Linked DNA regions of Homo sapiens: region 1 is linked to region 2. Evidence: promoter capture Hi-C in 16 types of primary human blood cells and fetal thymus (Javierre and others, 2016). All regions are on one chromosome and are shown on one strand. The core of a region is centred on a gene start or on the middle of the fragment in contact, and the rest is flanking DNA. Distances in the headings are between cores, read along the strand shown.

Evidence for each region. Contacts are between HindIII fragments. The CHiCAGO score rates a contact against its expected background, and 5 or more counts as called.
Region 1: a fragment that was not itself captured here is called in contact with the fragment with the promoter of SORBS1 in region 2 in 2 of 17 cell types (M2 macrophages and M0 macrophages); the score reaches 7.4 in M2 macrophages.

What each region holds. Positions count from the first base shown.
Region 1 is chr10:95,372,245-95,376,481 of GRCh38, reverse strand. SORBS1 (sorbin and SH3 domain containing 1) reads left to right here. Exons shown (of 33, transcript NM_001034954.3): 19 at 426-509. Among named protein-coding and RNA genes, the nearest start is that of PDLIM1, 83 kb to the right of the region's middle. The HindIII fragment of the contact is 875 bases long and covers 1,929-2,803 here.
Region 2 is chr10:95,559,281-95,563,374 of GRCh38, reverse strand. It overlaps SORBS1 (sorbin and SH3 domain containing 1), which reads left to right and starts at 2,004. Exons shown (of 33, transcript NM_001034954.3): 1 at 2,004-2,055. RefSeq lists silencers at 1,655-2,024, 2,065-2,174 and an enhancer at 1,659-2,421. The HindIII fragment of the contact is 3,213 bases long and covers 1,129-4,094 here.

The DNA.
Region 1 (4,237 bases), core at 1,117-3,616, 190 kb after region 2:
GCATAGATGGCTAAATGTTTGGTGTGCTCACCAGGTCATTTGCTCATAACTAATAGTTCTTTGTAAAGGGCTTTCTTTTCTTCCACATTACTGAAAATTATTGCAGAATGCTGTTATGCCCAGATTCAGACTTGTTGTGTAGGCAGCAGTGTGGTGCAGAGTTGTCCATCTATAGTCCATTTTCCTCTGCCTTAGGGCTGAGAATGATTCACTTACTGTTCCCTGCCTCAATTTCCCTGTTTTTATAAACCCATCCTCTCCCTCCTGTTTTTGCTGTTGTCAGTAAAAACAGATGATTGCTGCTGTTGAATGCAGCTCCTGTATATACCTGGAAACCACTGCATCTCTACTGGCCTGTTCCTATGTAATCTTTGCATAATGTTATCCTTCTCTTTCTTCCATTTCTCTATCACCAACCCCTATAGAGTCGGGATATAAGCCCAGAAGAGATAGATTTAAAGAATGAACCTTGGTATAAATTCTTTTCGGAATTGGAGTTTGGGAAACCGGTAAGTTTAATAGCTTCAGTGGTTATACACCTTTTAAACTAATGCTGTGGATGCGTTGTTGCTGCTAAAGAATCAGATGTTTGTAAGGAATTCAGAAAGTGGGGAGCAGTCATGTTGGTTGTCCGTAGTGGGATTGTCTCTTCTCACTACAACCTCTGAGCTTTCTTTTGCCTTACTTCACTGAGAAAGGATAGTGAGCTCTGGAAGTATATCTTGCTGGAATATCCCAGAGAAACACAAATAATCATTGCTTGTCTTAGACCTCCCCCCACTAACAACAAGTACCACATGCCTTGCGGATGGCATTATTTCAGCCATTGTTTTCACTTCCTTGACCAAAGTCTTTATGGTCTGTGAAAGACAAGCTGAAAATGTGTTACACACTGAGAAGACCAGCATTGTCTCTGCTTTAAATAGCATTTTTAAAAGCACATATGTAAATGAAGTCCCAGAGCAGGCCAACAAGGACCTCTTTGTGCAGATGTGACCCACAAATGCAACCCCATTATAGGTGACTTTTAGGGAATGATTTCTATGATGTAGGATATTTCCCAAAGTTTGAAATGGGAGTAAGGAATTCTAGCATCTTTAGTATTCAGCCTACAGTTGCCCCATGATATCTCTGAATTGGCTTTGGTACAAATTGACTTTTGGCACTTAAAGGAGGATTTTCTTAGCCTTGCACCCAAAGGAATATAAAATAGAAGGGAGAATTGAGCTCATCCTTCCTCTAGAGATAACGAAACTGACTTTAAAACTCTAGTTATTTTAAAGTCTTAATTATTACAGCTGCAAAAAGAATTTACAGGTAGAGGAGTTAAGTGTATAAACACATTTTATTCAATGATTGTATGAGACTTTATGCATTGGATCCAGCTTTTGAGTTTCTGTGGTCTGGGATGATAGTTTTATTTGCAGACAGGAATGTATTTTATAGTTGAGTAAATAAAATGTTTTAAAATTTTTTATTAAAACAAAGACAAAGAGAAATTAAGTTGGTGCTTAGGAATTGCTCTTTGATTTGGCAGTGCTGAGCTTTGAAAGTTCAGGCATCTTCTGAGTTAAGAGCACCAGACTTGCAAACAGCCTGCTTGTTCCTCTCTTCTGGTCCCTCCTAGACACTGTCTCCCGATAGCAGCTGAGCTGTCCTGGATGAACAGCGCCACCTAGTGACCAGTGGAGAGGGACGCATCTGACCCAAAGTCTGCACCCTCCTTCTCCCCTCCCCAAAGCATTGGTGCACACCTCATTTCTTCTCCTTTCTCTCCTTTCTTTTTTTCGCCTCTGCTGTTCACCATTCAGACATCAGTTAAATCTACCTCAGGCAATCTTTTCCACGTGCAGTATTTAACAGTATCCTAACCCTTTCTCTTTTCTCCTTTTCTTAAAACCTGGTCAATTATGTCACCGAAAAAAGCTTTTGCTGTGTGTAGTTGTCTCCCCACCCCCAAAACAGACCATGATTGGTATATGAAACAATAATGCCATACTTTAGTCAAGGAAAGCAAAAGCTATTAAGTTATGTTTAATAGAGTCCATGCCGTTGATTTTTCAAGTCTGTTTCAGAATCCACACATTTCTGCCCATCTCATCTGCCAAACAACTAAATTAGTTTTATCTAAAATATTAGCTTTCAGGAAAAATGGTGGAATTTTTTCCCTAATTAGTTGTGATTGTTTTACTAAATCTATCATTACAAATAATTTTTGAGGATAATATATAGTATTTTAATACCAGCATACATTTAAATAGTCTCCATGCATAGCTTGATAAATTAACAGTATTGCTGCCAAAAACTTCACTCCAGGTACCACACAGCTAACTTCAAACAAATGTTGAGAACACAGTCCAGTTGTATACTGGGGCTTTCCTCTAGCTTGTCTCCCCACCCCATTGCTCTAACAACCTCTTAATTATTTAAAGACTCAGAGATGCTTTTTCAAAGTAGCATTTTCTCTGAAGCCACATGCATTCTTTGCACAGGCCTCAGAGTTCTTCTAATGAGACTGCTTCTTTTTGTGTAGGTCTTACTTTAAAAGATAATACTTGTGAAGACTTGCCAAATTAACTAAATCAATGCCCATATCCTGAGGAACAGTCCTGAAATGAACAGCTCCTTATGGTCTGAGGCATCCTAATGGTGGGCTTATTACCTAGTTGAACTAACAGGGTTTGGGAGGAAGGTGTGGTAAGGATAAATTTTTTCTTCACTTCCTACTGCAACCACTCTGCCACAAAAGAGTAAGAGACATAAATAAAAGTGGCATAAACCATGGAAGCTGTTTTGGAAAGCTTTTCAGCCATTCAGAAGCAGAATCAAAATCCTACCAGATCATGGGAATCAGCATTTCTACTTTTTTTTTTTCTCACACCAACTGGGGACCACTTTCCCCAGTAAAGCCTGCCAGAACTTTGACACTAGACATTTACCCTGAACTCCTTGCTTCCTCCACCCCTTCGCTTTAGCCACCCAAAATGAACTGAAATTTCAGCAAGATCCTGACTAAAAAGATACCTTTTTAGCTCCAACAAGTTGTTAGAATAGCAAATAGTTCAAGACTCCAGGGACCATTTTTGGACAGATTATTTAAAACCAGTTTAATTTGTAAACACTGCCCTGTTTATTGCAGTAAAGAAATGATCGTAAGTCATTAGGCTTTAAAAAGTCTACTTCTGCAGATGAACAGTCCAAGTGTATTAAGTGCTTAAAGATGAATGGTAATTGGTAATATCACTTACTTTATGAAATGCGGAATATACATGTGCAGAGATGACATTACTGACCTGTTGCTGTCAGTGGTGAACACACCTTGGAATCAGATTACTTCTCATTTGCAGATTTATTACAAAGAGCCTGGGAATCAGTTTTTTTTCTGAGTTGTTTTCCTCTAATTTCTATAGAAATTGACATGATTTCTATATGTAAGAGCAAGTCAAAATTTCACAATGTAAACCAATTTGAATGCTTCCATGGAGTTGGCTATAATGAAATTTGCACAAAATTTTAGGAGCTATTAATGATCTCCTATTTCTTATCACCCTAGGGGTCATTATGTAAGAAAATTCAAGTCTAAATAGACAGAACAAGTAGAAGAGAGGATCCAGAGTTAGAAGTCACCTGTAACCTCTGAATGTTCCACCCGCTGGACTCTTCCCTCATTAAACTTACAACAATCTTTTGGCAAATTTCTGTCTTAGGAATGCAGCTGTAAATCTGACTTGAAGAGTTAAAAGACAAAACAAAAATAACCTTACAGTCCCCTCTTTAAATTCTGGGTTTAAACTCTGTTCTCTAAGGGGGATGAAAAGTATGTTTCTACCACTATCAAGGTCTAGTTAAACTGTAAAAGGAGGTTTTAAAACTACTGGTATGAAATTGTCTAGTGTACTATTTAACACCCATTTTATATATGAATTTCTTTGCTACAAACCACAGAAAGTAAATTTGGTTCAGTCTGTTGACCAAACCTCTAGATTCACACATGTGTTAATACACAATGAATTTTACAGCAGAAGACTGCCTCAAAAATGTGGAATCTTCAGTGTCAATCTTAGTTTGAAGAGAACAATGAGGAATTTAAAAGTTTCTGTTTTTGTTCAAATTTGTTAATGCTTTTTTTTTCTTTTTTCCCCCCCGTCTTTTCTTAAGTTTTCAATATTTAGAATCCAACGATGATTTGCTCTTGAAACATAGACATAGAAACAGACTTCCTAGGTAACAGTCCCAG
Region 2 (4,094 bases), core at 755-3,254:
CCTAGAGTGCTGGGATTACAGGCGTGAGCCACCACTCCCAGCCTATTATGAGCATCTTTATGTGTCAATAAACCTCTTCATTTTTTGTAGCTATTAATATATGATATTCTGTCATATGGTTGTACTATTATTAACCAATGCACTCAAATTGGATATTTGGATTGTTTTGATTTTTTTTTTTTTTGGCTATTCTAAAATGGTGTTGCCCTGAATTTGCTGGGTAAGTAACTAGTCTCTCTACCCTTTGTTATACACCTCTGTGGATAACCTCAGGATAACGACACTATTCCCACCTGGGGTCGTGTGGTGGATGTGAGTTAACGCATGTAAAGCTCTTAGCACAAGTATAGTACGGTGCATAGCAGCCTAGACGTGCTCAATAAATACTAGCTGTTTTATTACTTTATAGCCCAGAGAGAGCTGTCTTACACAGATTGTGGAGTAAATAAATAGGAGAGCCGGGGAAGTGTTCTTTGAAAAGCTGCAGGATGAGGTGCAGATAGGGGAAGGCCGTGGGCTGGGGGCTCCCTAGGTTGAGTAGTTCCCCAGTGTTTTCTCATTTATAGAGTAAGCTTCCAGATGGCTAGGACTCTTCTTTTTTTTTTTAATACACAGCAGAGGACACCAGGTGGTCACCAAAGACTTGTCACCGTTCCCTGACATCTAAGAATCTTTGCTGATGAGTTTCCGATCAGTCTGTGCAGTTATCAAGGCCAGTCTTTACCCTGCCACCCACAGCCTGTTCACTGAGAATGTGCTCTGGCTGAAGATGCTTGCAAGGGCAGCTGACAAAAATCAGTTGTGCTCAGCCCAAAGGGCGAGTGTCTTATCTTCAGGGATGTGGGAAGCTGGGCATGGAGGGAGCAAGTTCCAGACCAGTACTTGCTGGCTCTGCGACCTTGGGCCAGCAGATTCCCCACTCTGATCCCTGTCTCTGTTTCCTTTTCTGTAACTCTGAGGGGGACTAGAGGAGGTCAGGAGAATGGCATAGCACAGTGGTTAGCTCTGAACCCCATCTAACACGGTGCCTTCCCCCCACTTGCAATGACCTTGTTGCATTGTATGCACTCTACTTTTCACATTGTAGAGGATCTTATTTATTTACTTGTCTCCACTAAAATGGAAGCTTCCTAAGGGAAAAGGCCTTGCCTGTCTTGTTCTCTGCAGTTAACACTGGGGTCCAGCACTGCCACAGAGCCTCTAAATATATGTGTGTTGCATGAGTGAAATCTCAGAGCCTGGGTTCAAATCCTGGTTGCACCACTTGCTGTGTGACCTCGGACAAGCCACTTAAACTACACCTCAGTTTTCCTGCATAAAAATAGTAATTATTTTCAGTTTTCTCACTAGAAAAATATGGATTAGTAATCGTTCCTCTCTTATCAGGCTAAGAGGATCAAATGAGGAAATATCCGGGAAGCATTAAGCACACTGGCTGGTACAGAGCACACGAATGACAACAGCAAACGTTTATGTAGCACGACGGCCAGGAACTGATCAAAATGCATCACCTATGTTAACTATGTTAATCTTCACTAGATTTTACGAAGTCGGACTATTATGCCATTTTACAGATGGGTAAACTGAGGCCCAGGAGTTAAATAACTTATCACTGTTATTTTACGTCTAAGGTTCCTTCCAAGCTCCCCGTGGGCGACCCTTCCGAAGGACCAGAAGGCGCGCCAGGCCAGCGTCCGGCCCGGCCAGGACGGAAAGGGTTACTAGGCCCGCGCGCCCGTTACCGGCGGAGGCCGGCGGGCTCACAATGCCAGGAGCCGGGCGCCGGACACTTCTTCGCCTCCCATCCGCGCACACGCCCCTTCCTGTCACGGCTGGGCCCGGCCCCGCCCCCGGCACCGCCCGCTGGCCGGGCGCTGCCAGAGTGGACGGTTCCAGAGGCATGCTAATGAGGGGGCGGGCACCGCAGCCCATTGGTTGTCCGCGGAGTGTCGGTGAAGTCAGCGCTGAGTCCCAGAAAAACAGAGCGGGGCCAGCTGCAGCGTGTAGTGCGAGTGGGGCGGACGCGCGCAGCCCGCCCGCCCGGCGACCAGCAAGGTAAGCCCGCGCTCGCCCGCCCGGCCGCGCTTGCCCGCTCGGCGGCGGCAGCGCCGGGGGTGTGCGCGGCTCGGCCCCCGCGGGCGGCGCCTTTGTTCCGCGCTCGGAGGAGGCGCATTTAAAGGGCCAGCTGTTGGAGGGACTTGGGGGACCCCCTCCCCCAGAGCATCCCCCCATGGGCACAGGGAAAGCGGTGGTCCCTCGCGGCCGAACCGTCCATCCTGCCTGCTCGGCGAATCCCCAGTCTTTCAAGGAAAGTTCCCCAGGGTGCGGAGGATCTGGGGGCTTCCAGGGTTGGGGGTTTTTAAATTTCCTTTTTTGGTGGGTGTGGGGTAGTACGATCATGGCCTCTGCTAGGAGAGAATGTCCGCCCGTCTCAGGGTGGCTGCAATTTGGGTGGGTGGAGGAGACATCAAAGCCCGAATGGGTTTGTGCTGTAAAGTGAAACTACCGAGGAGGGGCACCTCTGCAGCAGCCAGAGGAAGGCGGAGGGAGCGAGCGGCGGGATGGAGGCATCTCAGGTGTGTTCATTCATCAGCATCCCCTGGAGAGGGCGGCGGGAGGGGCGCAAGGACGACGCGGTTGGCCGGACCCGCCTGAATGAACGGGGACTAGTATGCGCCGGGGACACGGCGCCTGCCCGTGCCGCCCGTGCCCCTTCTTCTCCCCGAGTGGCTGACAGCATCTTGCTAGGCAGCTCATCACCGACATGGACAGCAAGCAACTCCTTTCTCCGAATTCCCCGGGCATCCCCTGCTACCACCTCGCTGCTTTCCGATGTGGCTTCCTTGATACGTGGTAGCGCCATTCAAGATAGAGGGGAAAGAGGCTTGAAGTCATTATGTTTCCTTCATGGGGGAATGTGCTGTCGAATTCTGCATCCCCATGCATCCGCTGTCGTAAGATGGCTTTGAAATTCACCAGTGCATGCTTTCTCCAGGCAGACAAGAATTTATTACGCTATTACATTGCTACGTAAAAGCAGAAGGGATCCCACTGAGCATGGCTCGTTTTGTTCAGTCCTCGGTTTTTCCCAGCATGTTCTGGGCGAGCCTTTGGATTTTTGTTTTAAACACTGAGCGTTGGGATGCCCCTGTTGTCACAGGGCCGACCTGCTGAAATTGCTGGAATTGGTTTCATCGTCAATAGGAGGGAGGTTCATCTAGAGACATCATGGAACCTATCTGGCGTGTCAGGCCTCTGACTCCATCTCTCCCCTCAACACCCCCCCCCCCGCCCAGCCCCCCGCGCCCTTTTTTCCTCTTAAGTGGAGGCGGGGGATGGATTGGCTGTCTTCACTCTCCTTGTGTTTTGAGCTCCTCTGCTTAGATTCAATTCTGTGGTTTTGGTTGGAAAGGTATCTTGGTGGTGATCGAAGAGAGGAGGGTTGGATTAAAAGTGGGGTGGACACAGAGGGGTCAGCAGCATCAATGACAGAAGACAGATGATGGACATATCTACAGCCTTCAGACACCGATGAGGCAGATGGCTGTCTACAGAGTGAGGGGCGTGTGTTTGGGCTGTGAGGGGGAGGGGTGGAGGAGGAGGATGCCTCCAGCAGTTTTCTGCCCCGCCCTCTGGATGCTGCCTTAAATAGCCCCTTGCCAACCAAGCTCTGATGTCTCTTTCTTGGCCTGAGGGGAAAGAAGGGAAGGGTTGGTCTGTTGGCACCTTTGCCCAAGGCACTGTTGGAGCAGATGGTTAGGAAAGGGTTAGTTCTCCAGGGGTTGCAGAGAGCACATTTCTCAGCTGGAGGGCCCTGAGACCACTCCTTTGGCGACTTCCCTGCAGGGAATTAGCAACTGAAATGAACTGCTGTCTACCCTGTGGGGTAAAGAGTTGGGAGGGTATTGTCATCTTGTGGACGATACCCGCCTTGTTGGCCTTTTCCTTCTCCTACCTGCTTTCATTTGTTGTAGTTGGAGAGTTTCTGTATACTTTTCGGAAGAGATTGGGCATATTGGGGAGTGGGTAGGAGTTATGGGAAAGGATGAGCAAATTCTTCCTGGCAGAACAAAGCACTGTTCAGCTGTTCCTCT